Regions from separate parts of the Homo sapiens genome. Here region 1 is linked to region 2. The links are contacts of gene promoters, found by promoter capture Hi-C in human tissues and cell types (Jung and others, 2019). All regions are on one chromosome and are shown on one strand. The core of a region is centred on a gene start or on the middle of the fragment in contact, and the rest is flanking DNA. Distances in the headings are between cores, read along the strand shown. Region 1 overlaps BRINP1 (BMP/retinoic acid inducible neural specific 1). Region 2 holds the start of BRINP1 (BMP/retinoic acid inducible neural specific 1).

Region 1 (5,631 bases), core at 2,491-4,990, 53 kb after region 2:
TATTGAATTTCTATCTTCTAGAAGAGTACCTGACACATAATAGTTGTTCAGTATGGTAATGAATGAATAGATAAATTTATTGACCATCCACAATGCTTTTTGACTTTAGCAGGTAGTACAGAAATGAAATCCACAGTTCATTTGATGAGAGGGAGATAGAGTGAGAGATGGGCGATCAGCTGCCTCAGGGCCCTGGTTCTCCCTAAGTACTCTGCCACCTGGTGTGCTATCCCCAGCACACACCCCATCACTCTCCTACCTTCTCCCACCCACCCAAGGCTTTTGTAGGCTGTCTGTTCTGCTGAAATTTCCTTTTCCCCATCTGTGCTCAATAAAACTGTACATGCTATTTGAAACCCTTCTCAAGTACTACCTCCCTCTTCTATGGGGTTCTCTCAGTGCCTTTGCTGAAAACAGTCTCTCTGGCATCCATTCCTCCGTTGGACTTCATTTCTTTATTATAGTATTTATGGCAGCATATTTCATATTAGAATTGTTCACACTTGGGTGTGACTCCCCCATTATATTTTGAATCTCTGGAGAGCAGGATCTAATTTCAGCTGGAATGAGATGAGGCTGGGGAATGCTGGAAATTGTACAGACTGTGTAATGGGATATTCACAGGTTAGAATCCCAAGTCTGACACTTGGGAATTGTGAGCTTAAGAAAGTTATTCAATGTCTCCAAGTCCTAAGGTGCTCATTTGTTAAATTGGGTAACTGTGCCCATTTTGTGGAATACATCTTTATTAATAACTGCTCTGGACTGTATGCTTTGGCAACTACCAAGAAAATAAACCATTTTAAAGCCAGCATATAGTAGATGCTCAATAAATACCAATAATGTGACTCTCATATTATCTGGAGTCTCCAGCACAGTTGGTGCTAATATGGTCTTATTTACATAATGGGAGTCACTCCCTGCCATCATAACATATATGGGTAACATATGTACTCATCCTTGTTCCAGCCCAACAAAATATCCATTTCCATTAATAAAGTCAAGGACTCTATAGAAACTTTCATTTTCATTTCTGGTGCTCTGCGGATTACTGTGATGTTCTAAATCAACAGAGATATATTCTGACTTCTTCCATGAAACATTCATCTCTACTTGAGGAAATGTAGATGGTATTACAGGCCCTAAGAACAAAGCAGGTTGAAACATAGCCATACATGCCAAGTGCCTGGCCAAGACAATGTGGCAGAATGAGAAGAACTCTTAACCGAGAGCTAGAAGATAGGAGTCTAGCCCAATTTGCCACTCAGGTTATGATCTGTAAAAAGGAGTTGGATTAGAGCAGGGTTTCTCAACATTTGCATCATTGACATGTGGGGTCCCGTATTCTTTGTTGTGGGGGCTGTCTTGTGCAGTGTAAGATGTTTAGCAGCACCCCTGGCCTCCACCCATCAGATGCCAGCAGCATCCCCTCAGTTGTGAGGATCAAAGATGTTCCCTGGGGAGCAAAAGGTCCACACTTGGGAAGTACGAGTTAAATCTTCCAAATTTCAGCTAATTCTGGGACTGTAGGCTGAGGTCTCACTCTCCTGCACACACACACACACACACACACACACACACACACACACACCCCACACATTTCTCTTCCATGTATGACCTTGTTCCACTTTTGAGAGCTGCAATGTTCTGAGCCTTGTTTCTTTGCAAACAGTCTAACAGCTAAGTATTCTCTCACAGGCTCCCACCCTGCACCAGTTTACAATAGAAGCCATGTAGAAGGGCTGTGTGGGTGACACACTGTGACTTCAGTGTGTTGTATCACTACCAGGATCTCCCAACAATCGCCTTCATCCCCTGCTTGCCACTTGGGGGCTCTGGCAGACAGTTTGGCAGCCGTAGTTGTTACTGTTCTGCACTCAACATGTACGGATTTGTTTTAGGCTCTGAACAAGACCTCAGGCCACAGCTTTTGCCAGCTCACTCCTCTGCTCATGTACCTTTCTCCTTTGCCCCTGACAACTGAGACTTGCAGTGACAAGCAGATTTTTGTAGCGACTCATGATAAAACAGTGCAATGGGCAACAGAGAGAAATAACCAACTGGGCAATAAATCACATTTCTCTTTTAAATTTTTTTCTCTTTCTCAGCTTTGCTTTATCTTTCATATTCAGCTGGAAAAGTAGACAAATGAGGTGTCATATTTAATCATGTATATAGATGGGTTTACAGTTGACAAATTGTTTGTGTCCTCACCACATTTTCACATGGAAGACATAAAAATCTGAGGTCTTGAGAGGGGACATGACTGTCCACAGTCATGCAGCTGAGCGAGAGTAGCTAGTTTTCTAAAGATCATTTCCAGTTAAAGGCTTACAGCCCAATGAACAAGACAGACATAGAAACAAATACAGGCATATCTCAGAGATTTGTAGGTTGCGTTCCAGATGACCACAATAAAGCAAATATTGCAATAAATTGAATCACCCCAATTTTTTGGCCTCCCACTGCATATTAAACTTATGTTTACAGTATCCTGTAGCCTATTAAGTGTAGGATAGCAGTGTGTCTCAGAAAACAATGTATATGCCTTTATTAAAAACACTTTATTACTAAAAAAAGGCTAATGATCATCTGAAGTTTCAGTGAGTTAAAATCTTTTTGCTGGTGGAAGGTCTTGCCTCAATGTTGTTGGCTTCTGACTGATCAGGGTGGTCAGGTTGCTGAAGACTGGGTGGCAGTGGCAATTTCTTAAGTTAGACAACAATGAGGTTTGCCACATCAATTGACTCTTTCTTTCATGAAATAATTTTGTAGAATGTGATGCCGTTTGATAGTATTTTACGTAAGGTAGAACTGTTTTCACAACCAGAGTCAGTACTCTCAAATCTTGCCACTGTTTTATCAACTAAGTTTACGTAGTATTCTAAATCCTTTGTTGTCGTTTCAACAGTGTTCATAGCATCTTCATCAAGAGTAGACTCCATCTTGAGAAACTGCTTTCTTTGCTCATCCATAAGGAGCAACTCGTCATCCGTTCAAGTTTTATCATGAAATTGCAGCAATTCAGTCATATCCTCAGGCTCTACTTCTAATTCTAGTTATCTTGCTATTTCTGTCACATCTACAGTGATTTACTCCACTGAAGTCTTGAACCCCTCATGATCATTCATGAGGTTTGAAATCAACTTCTTCCAAACTCCTGTTACCGTTGATATTTTGACTTCTTCCCATGAATCACAAATGTTCTTAATGGCATCTAGAATGGTGACTCTTTTCCAGAAGTTTTCCAATGTGCAATGCCCAGATCCATCAGAGGAATCCCTTTTTATGGCAGCTATAGCAGTATAAAATGTATTTCTTTTTTCTTTATTTTATTTTATTTTTTGAGATGGAATGTCACTCTGTCACCAGGCTGGAGTGCAGTGGTGCGATCTTGGTTCCCGGCGACCTCCGCCTCCCGGGTTCAAGCGATTCTCCTGGCTCAGCCTCCCAAGTAGCTGGGACTACAGGTGCGCACCACCATGCCCAGCTAATTTTTGTATTTTTAGTAGAGGCGGGGTTTCATCATATTGGCCAGGATAGTCTCGATCTCTTGACCTCATGAAATGTATTTCTCAATAAGACTTGAAAGTCAAAATCATGCCTTGATCTATGGGCTGCAGAATAGATGTTGTTTCAGCAGGCATGAAAACACCATTAATCTCCTTGTATATCTCTGTCAGAGCCCTTATGTGACTAGATGCATTGTCAGTGAGCAATAATATTGAAAGGAATCTTTTTTTCTGCACAGTAGTTCTGGATAATGGCCTTAAAATATTCAGTAAACTATGTTGTAAACAAATGTGCTGTCATCCAGGCTTTAGATCACAAGCAGAGTAGATTTAGCATACTCTTAAGGGCCCTAGGATTTTTGGAATGGTAGGTGAGCATTTGGCGTCAACTTAAAGTCACCTGCTGCATTAGCCCCTAACGAGAGACAGTCTGTCCTTTGAAGCTTTGAAGTCAGGCACTGACTTCTCTCTAGCTATGAAAATCATCGACATCTTCAGATATAAAGCTATTTTGTATACATTGAAAATAGGTTGTTGGCCGGGCACGGTGGCTCACGCCTGTAATCCCAGCACTTTGGGAGGCTGAGGCGGGCAGATCACTTGAGGTCAGGAGTTCAAGACCAGCCTGGCCAACATGGCGAAACCCTGTTTCTACTAAATATACAAAAAATGAGATGGGCATGGTGGCGTGCACCTGTAATCTCAGCTACTGGGGAAGCTGAGGCATAAGAATTGCTTGAACCCGGGAGGTGGAGGTTGCAGTGAGTCAAGATTGCACCACCGCACTCCAGGCTAGGCGACAGAGCAAGACCCTGTCTCCAAAACAAGAAAGAAAATAGATTGTTTAGGGTAGCCATCTTCATCAATAATTGAAGCTCGATCTTCTGGATAACTTGCTGCACCTTCTCCATCAGCATTAGCTTCTTCACCTTGTACTTTCATGTTACAGAGATGGCTTCTTTCTTTAAACCTCAGGAAGCAACCTCTGCTGGCTTCAGACTTTTCTTCTGCAGCATTCTCATCTCTCTCATCCTTCATGGAATTGGAGAGAGTTAGAACCTTACTCTGAATTAGGCTTTGGCTTAAGGGAATGTTGTGACTGTTTTGACCTGCTACCCAGACCTCTAAAACTCTCTTCATTCAACACTAGGCTGTTTTGCTTTCTTATCATTCATGTGTTCACTGGAACAGCACATTTAATTTCCTTAAAGGACTTTTCCTTCACATTCACAATGTGGCTAACTGGTGCAAGAGCCCTAGCTTCCAGCCTATCTTGCCTTTTGCCATGCCTTCTAGCTTTTGATTTAAAGTGAGAGATGTAGGACTCCTCCTTTCACTTAAACAATTATAGGTCATTGTAGGTTTACTAATTGGCTTAATTTCGGTGTTATTATTTCTCGGGGAGTAGGCAGGCCTGAGGAAAGGGAGAGAAAGGGAATAGCTAGTCAGTGGAGCAGTCAGAAAACACAGGTTTATCGATAAAGTTTGCCATCTTATATGGGTCCAGTTCATGGTGCACCCAAATAATTACAATAATAACATCAAAGTTTGCTTACCACAGACCACCATAACAGATACAATAATAATAAAAAAGTGTGAAATATTTTGATAATTATCAAAATGTGACACCAAGACACAAAGTGAGCACACATTGTTGGAAAATTGGTGTTAACAGACTGGCTAGGCTGAGGGCTGCCACAAGCCTTCGATTTGTTAAAACTTTAATATTTGCAAATCTCAATAAAGTGAAGTACAATAAAATGAAGTATGCCTGTAAGCATAATACAAGGTGATAAGGGCTAAAATGCAGTTACAGAAAATGAGCAACTATAGCTCAGAGGAGTAAACAAATAACGCTTTTTTAAATTAATAAAAAAAGAAAATGACCTCTGAGGACATGATCTCAGCTGGCTATTGAAGGATTTAAACAGGGTTTGGCCAGGCAGTGGGGATCAGGTGAACAAAAACACTGTCATAGGGAATAAGTTGACATCAGTATCGACATTCATCATCATTATCCTCATCATGATACGTGACATTTATTGAGCACTTACTGTATGCCAGGCACAAGAGGGAGCAATTATGTCGTTTAATTGTCATCTTGGTTCTGAGTGTAGGT
Region 2 (5,439 bases), core at 1,916-4,415:
TACAAAAGGTCCTATTTTAGTGTCACCCCAAAATCTACAGACAGGAAGTTCTTTCTTAAGTCTATCCTAATCTGTTGGCAGCTCCTCCCCATGGAAGCCCTTAGTAAATTCGGTGGAAATAGCAAACAGCTGCTCACCAACACCCACCCCAAAGAAAGAACAAGACATTTCTCACATATCTCAAGCTGCCTTAAATGTTCTTTCTTTGGCAAAGAAGAAAAAAAGAAATATATTTTTGGCCTCTAAACCTTTTCCCACCCGTGTGTATTTCTGCAAAAATGTTATCCATATGGTTTTGATTGCATTCTCCATAAGTCATTAGAAATGCTTTGCACTGAGAACTTTTCTGATGACCAAGGTGTCTTCGGAGACATTTTAAAATGGCCCTCTTAGCCTTTCTTCATAGAAACAGGAAAGCTAAACTGAGCCAAATGCAAATGAACTAAGACCTGGAAAGGTTGGCATTTTATTCAAAACTCAGAAACCATAAGGCTCGAGTGAGCCTTAAATCTGTCCATGCAAAGTCTTCACCTCCTTCTCCAGGGACAAGATACACTAAATCATCCATTGGGATGGGACACAGATAATGCAATGGATCCAGACATCTAAGTTGATATTTAGGGTTGGGTGCAGTGACCCCATAAAATTCCAAGAACTTCCAATCACCCCAGGGCTTCCCCATTATTCCCAGAGGATAAAGATTTTGGACTTGGACTTGGGTGTTGAATTCCTGACTCCATCACCTACTAGCTATATTTTGGCATATAGCTAGTTTGGCATATACTCAAGTTTTTCAAGACTCAATTTCCTATGCCATAAAGATGGGATAGTATTATCTATTCATACTGCAAAGTATTTTCAGAACTGTAAGCAATAATATTCAGAACATTGCAAATAAAATGCTTGGTGCACGGTAAAAGTTCAAAATTCTCTCTCCTCTTTCTCTCTGTGTAGTATTGGTTGGAACTAGAAGAGCTCTTTTTTTCTTTAGGGAAATATTGACTGGGTGGGGTGAGGAAGAGAAAGACTGGACAGTATTCCAAAGCATTAAGTCCCCACTTTCTAAGGTATGTAGACCACAACCCATCTTGGGAGATTGATTACAAGGAAAGGGTTAAGAAGAATCAGTCAGAACTTTGGTCTTCACCTGAAGTTGCCTGACTACGTTGTCTCAGATTGATTTCAGAACTGCATTATCAGCAGGGCAGCTGTTGCCTACTAACAGTCATGGAAGTAGATCTCAGCTGGGGGATGATGGGGAAACAAAGAGAAAGATAGGGACGAATAAAGGAAGGAATGGGGCACAGACAGAAAGAGAGAGAGAGAAAAGAAAGAAAGGAGGAGAGGCAAGAGATAGTGACCTGGGGTTTCATACCGCGGTGGGTGGGAGAAGGAGTGTGTGTGGTGGGCGTATTTCTTCGTGGTCAGAATCAAAGTCAGAACTGACCTGGGGAACCTGTGTTCAAGACCTGAACCTGGACCAGAAGCCAAGGGAAAGAGAAAGTTGCCCAAGAAAAAAGGGAGAAATTTCCACCAGGCGAAAATAGAAATCGCTGACTGGGTTTGTGGCTGGAGAGCTGTCCGTGGTGCTGACTCCTCCTCATTGGGATTCCAGTGAAGGCTGAGAAGCTCTGCACTGGCTGCTCCTCCTCTCCCTTTCCTCTCCCCTCAGTCCTGACCTTCTGAGACCCAGGATCATTCTGGCTAGCTCGATGTCTTCTCCTCTCTTTCTCCCTTTCTCTTTGTCGATTAAATAATTTTTCCCGAGTTCCCAGTTCATCACTCAAACATTTCTCTTCCATTTTGTTTCAAGACTCCTCTTCCTCCAATTAGTTCACTGGCTCCTAGATTGTTCTAGGCCTCCCTGGTGGTCACATCTCTCTCTTATCATCCTTTGAATTAAAAAACAAACAAAAAACATACAATGGCAATCATAAAAGCAGACAACATGCACTGAGCACTCACTAGGTGTCAGGGAGCAGTCTAAGTGCCTTTGCATACATTAACTCATGAGCAGTCTAAGTGCCTTTGCATATATTAACTCATTACAATTCCACATCAACCCTATTAGATGGGTAGATATATTATTATTCTATTAAACAGACAAGGAATTGAGGCTTAAGGGGTAAGTGATTTCACCAAGACCAGACAGCTACAGGACTCCAACCTCTCTGGAGCCTGCACTTCTACTGAATCTGGCTCTTTTACATATTCCAACACCTTTTCCTATGACTTCCTGCCCCTCCATCTGGTAGCCTTAATGCTTTCTATTCTTGCCTAATCTTCAGGGGACTAGGGATCTGCATTGCTGATTTGGTTTAAATCAGAAGGGAAGCAAAGTAAACAAACATACCAAATGTGCGCTGTGTGGGAATTATCATACGAGGGCTTTATTTTCTGCTTCAGGAAGAGGCCCTATGTTAGCAGCCCCAGCCTGCATTCAGGCTGATTGCAGAGTATTTTGCTTTTTATTTTCATGTCTTAGTCCCTGTACCCTCGCCCCTTCCCCGCCTCTGGTGGTCTCCAGAGAACTTCGTGTCCCCTCAGCTTCTCCCTCCTACATCCTGCCTACGTAGAGAAGCTCTTGCTTCATTCTGGGAGGTTACGTGGGCTCTCGCCTACACACCGAGAGAAACAAACAGTGTCAAACACTCACAGAGAGACGCGCAGACACAAACGGACCCACACGGGCAACTCCCGAGACAAAACCCACACTCGATGGATCCACGCGGCCGTGGAAACACCTGCCGCCCCAGAAACACTCAGGTACTCGCGACACACACAGTACAGTCACGCTTAAGGGCACCAGGATTCCGGGTTTGCGCGTATGCGCGGTCCCTTTGGATGCTCGTGCGCATAGACACAACACCCTACACGCCCCAGACCCACGAAACTCCCTACGGCTCAGCCCCAGCCCACCCGGGCCGCCCTTCCCTCGAGGCGGCCTCCCGTCTCTCCTCCTCTCGCTTCTCCTCCTCCTCCGCCTAAAGATGTACAAAACACTCCTCGGAAGCAACCCCGGCGTTCAGCTCCTCCCTCCCCGCCCCCCGGCCGCCGCTCCCCCATTCATTTTCGGCCGTCGCCGGCTAAGTCCCTCCCCCGGCGTAGCCCGGCCTCCGCCGCTCCCCGCCCGGAGACCGCGGCGCACTTGGACTTCCCTCTCCATTCGCCAGCCGCCTCGCTCCCGGACCCCACGGCTGCAAACTGATCTGGCGCGCGGGGAGGAGGAGAGCGCAGGCGAGCGAACCCGCGAGAGAGGGAGAGAGCGAGCGAGCAACAGCGAGAGCGAGAGCGAGAGAGCCGGGAGGCAGAGGGAGTAGTGACCGCCTTCCGGAGCCGGGATTCATGCCTGTCCTCGGGACCAGCGAAGGGGACTTTACGGCTGAGTATGAGCCAGGCTGCTAGGAGCCAGGTACCCCCACGCCTGCAGTCCCCGCGCCGTGCCCGGAATGCGAGCTGCACGCAGGGCTCTCCCAAGTTCCCACCGAGCCGAATAAAAAGCGTCCTCCCGCAGCTCTCCGCCAAAGACGGACATTGACTCCAGGTAAGGCGGCGCCGGGTGCAGCGCCCCGCAGCCCCGCTGCCCTTGGACCCGGCCCCGGGCCGCATTCGGGGCGTCCCCGCGCTCCTCTGCCCCTCCCCCTACCGGCACCCTTGTCCGCTCTTCACCTGGCCGCCCCGCCGCCTCCAAGTCTTCTCCAGTTCTAGGGAGGGGGTTCCTGTGCCTGGGGCTCAAAGGGCTAATTGCGGGTTTGAGTGAGTGGCGTGTGTGTCCCCGCGCGCTCCCGACGTGTGCACCATGGTGGGAACTTGATGTGGTGCTAGTGTGTTTGCGTGTGCGGCGTCGTTTGCGTTTGATGCGTGTGTTCGTGGTGTGTGTGTGTGTCCGTGTGTGTAAGGGAGGGGTGAAGAGAGAGAGGTCCTATAACCTACTTACGGCGCGATGTGTGTGTGCATGTTTGTACGTATGTGTTTGTATGTGTGCCCTCGTGTGTCTTTTTAATTAGGTCTCTCCAGCTTACACGGAATGGGACCCTTACTATAGGATCACGTAGTCACCGGGAAACCCGCTGTGGACTTCCTCTTGGGGCTCTGGGCTTGGGGTTTGGGGAGGATTATGGGGCTGTAGATGGCACCTTATTTAGCCCAATGTTGGTACGCTTGAAGGAAAATTCCTCCAAACGGTGGAATCCTGCTACACTGGGACCCACAGCTTAATATGAAAGAGACATGGCCAACCCCCGAGGCAAATGAGACGCTGTCACTTTAAATTCTACACTGGGCAGACTCCAAGATTCTGATGGGAATTTGGAGACACTGGATAGTGGGTGACAGAGAAAGGGGGAAGTCAGCGGTGGGCTCCTTATCTGGGGCTTGGAAAGTCTGGGATAGGGATTTACCCTGCATCCCCGTTTGCAATCAACAGAGCCCCTCCGGCTTCTGTTGGTTTTGGGGAGGATCTGGCAAGTTTGCATGGATCCCCCTCAGGGGAAAGGAGAAAGCGTCCTCGGGGACTTGCTCATCCATCACAGTTGCAAAGGGTCTCAGAGGAAATTTCATCTGGGGCGGCTGTGGATGATATGGAAGGAGATGGATGGGGCACTTTCCTAAGACAGATTCGTCTTTCTTTCCCCATTTCAGGCGGGGAAGCCCCCAGAGAGTCTCTCCCTAAATATGCCTCTCCATGGCTCCCCTGGAGTTAGGGGGATATTGAGAGAAGGCAGAGAGGTGGAGAGGGAGAGAGAGAGAGCAAGAGCGAGAGAGAGGGAGACAGAGAGAGAGAGTGTTTCAGTACTGAGGGAGATCTACAATTTGAAAAGGGGCTGTGAGTGTGGAACCCATGACAGAATGTGGCAGTAATTGACTTAAACTGCTGTCGGTTTGCACCTCGCGTCTCTCACTTGGCTCCAAAATACTGCCAAGGGCAGGGGGGCGGTGGAGGAATCTCAGCCAGGAAGGTAGTTTGGGTCAAGGCCCTCTTTCTTCTTTCCTCCATCTCCTGGGAGGCTCTTTAGGTAGGTCCCTTGGCCACCCTGGCTTGGTACTGTTGGGCTTGGGCTCTGGGGCCAGCCATTGATTTGATTCCCAGCTGCCTCTTAAAGGCTTGCCCTACTCAGCAAAAATGCTGAGTTTTACTGCTGTTAGCATGGCTTCCAGACTCGGCAGCTGTTACTTTCTCAAGGTAAGCGGCAGCCGTTCTGCTCTCAGGCAGGGAGGCTAGGAGAAGACAAGGGCTGTGACGCTGGGACACAGCCTCTTGTCTAGCTCAGCACGGAGGGGCCGCTGAAAAGCCCTCTTAGGGGAAAAAAGTAGAAATATATTTGGCCTAAAAAATGTACACATATATTCTAGGAAGATATATATATATATATATATATCAATCACACACACACACACACACACACATGTGTTCATATTCTGGGGAGAGATAAAAGCAAA

What was found. The method cuts DNA at HindIII sites, captures the fragments that hold promoters and counts their contacts. A contact is called where the count stands out against the background at its distance.
Region 1: a fragment that was not itself captured here is called in contact with the fragment with the promoter of BRINP1 in region 2 in 1 of the 25 tissues and cell types used here (liver).

What each region holds. Positions count from the first base shown.
Region 1 is chr9:119,314,805-119,320,435 of GRCh38, reverse strand. The region is part of intron 1 of BRINP1 (BMP/retinoic acid inducible neural specific 1); the gene reads left to right. Among named protein-coding and RNA genes, the nearest start is that of BRINP1, 52 kb to the left of the region's middle. The HindIII fragment of the contact is 6,268 bases long and covers 607-5,631 here.
Region 2 is chr9:119,367,161-119,372,599 of GRCh38, reverse strand. It overlaps BRINP1 (BMP/retinoic acid inducible neural specific 1), which reads left to right and starts at 3,165. Exons shown (of 8, transcript NM_014618.3): 1 at 3,165-3,544. RefSeq lists enhancers at 2,201-2,721, 2,722-3,244, 3,245-3,766. The HindIII fragment of the contact is 11,628 bases long and covers 1-5,439 here.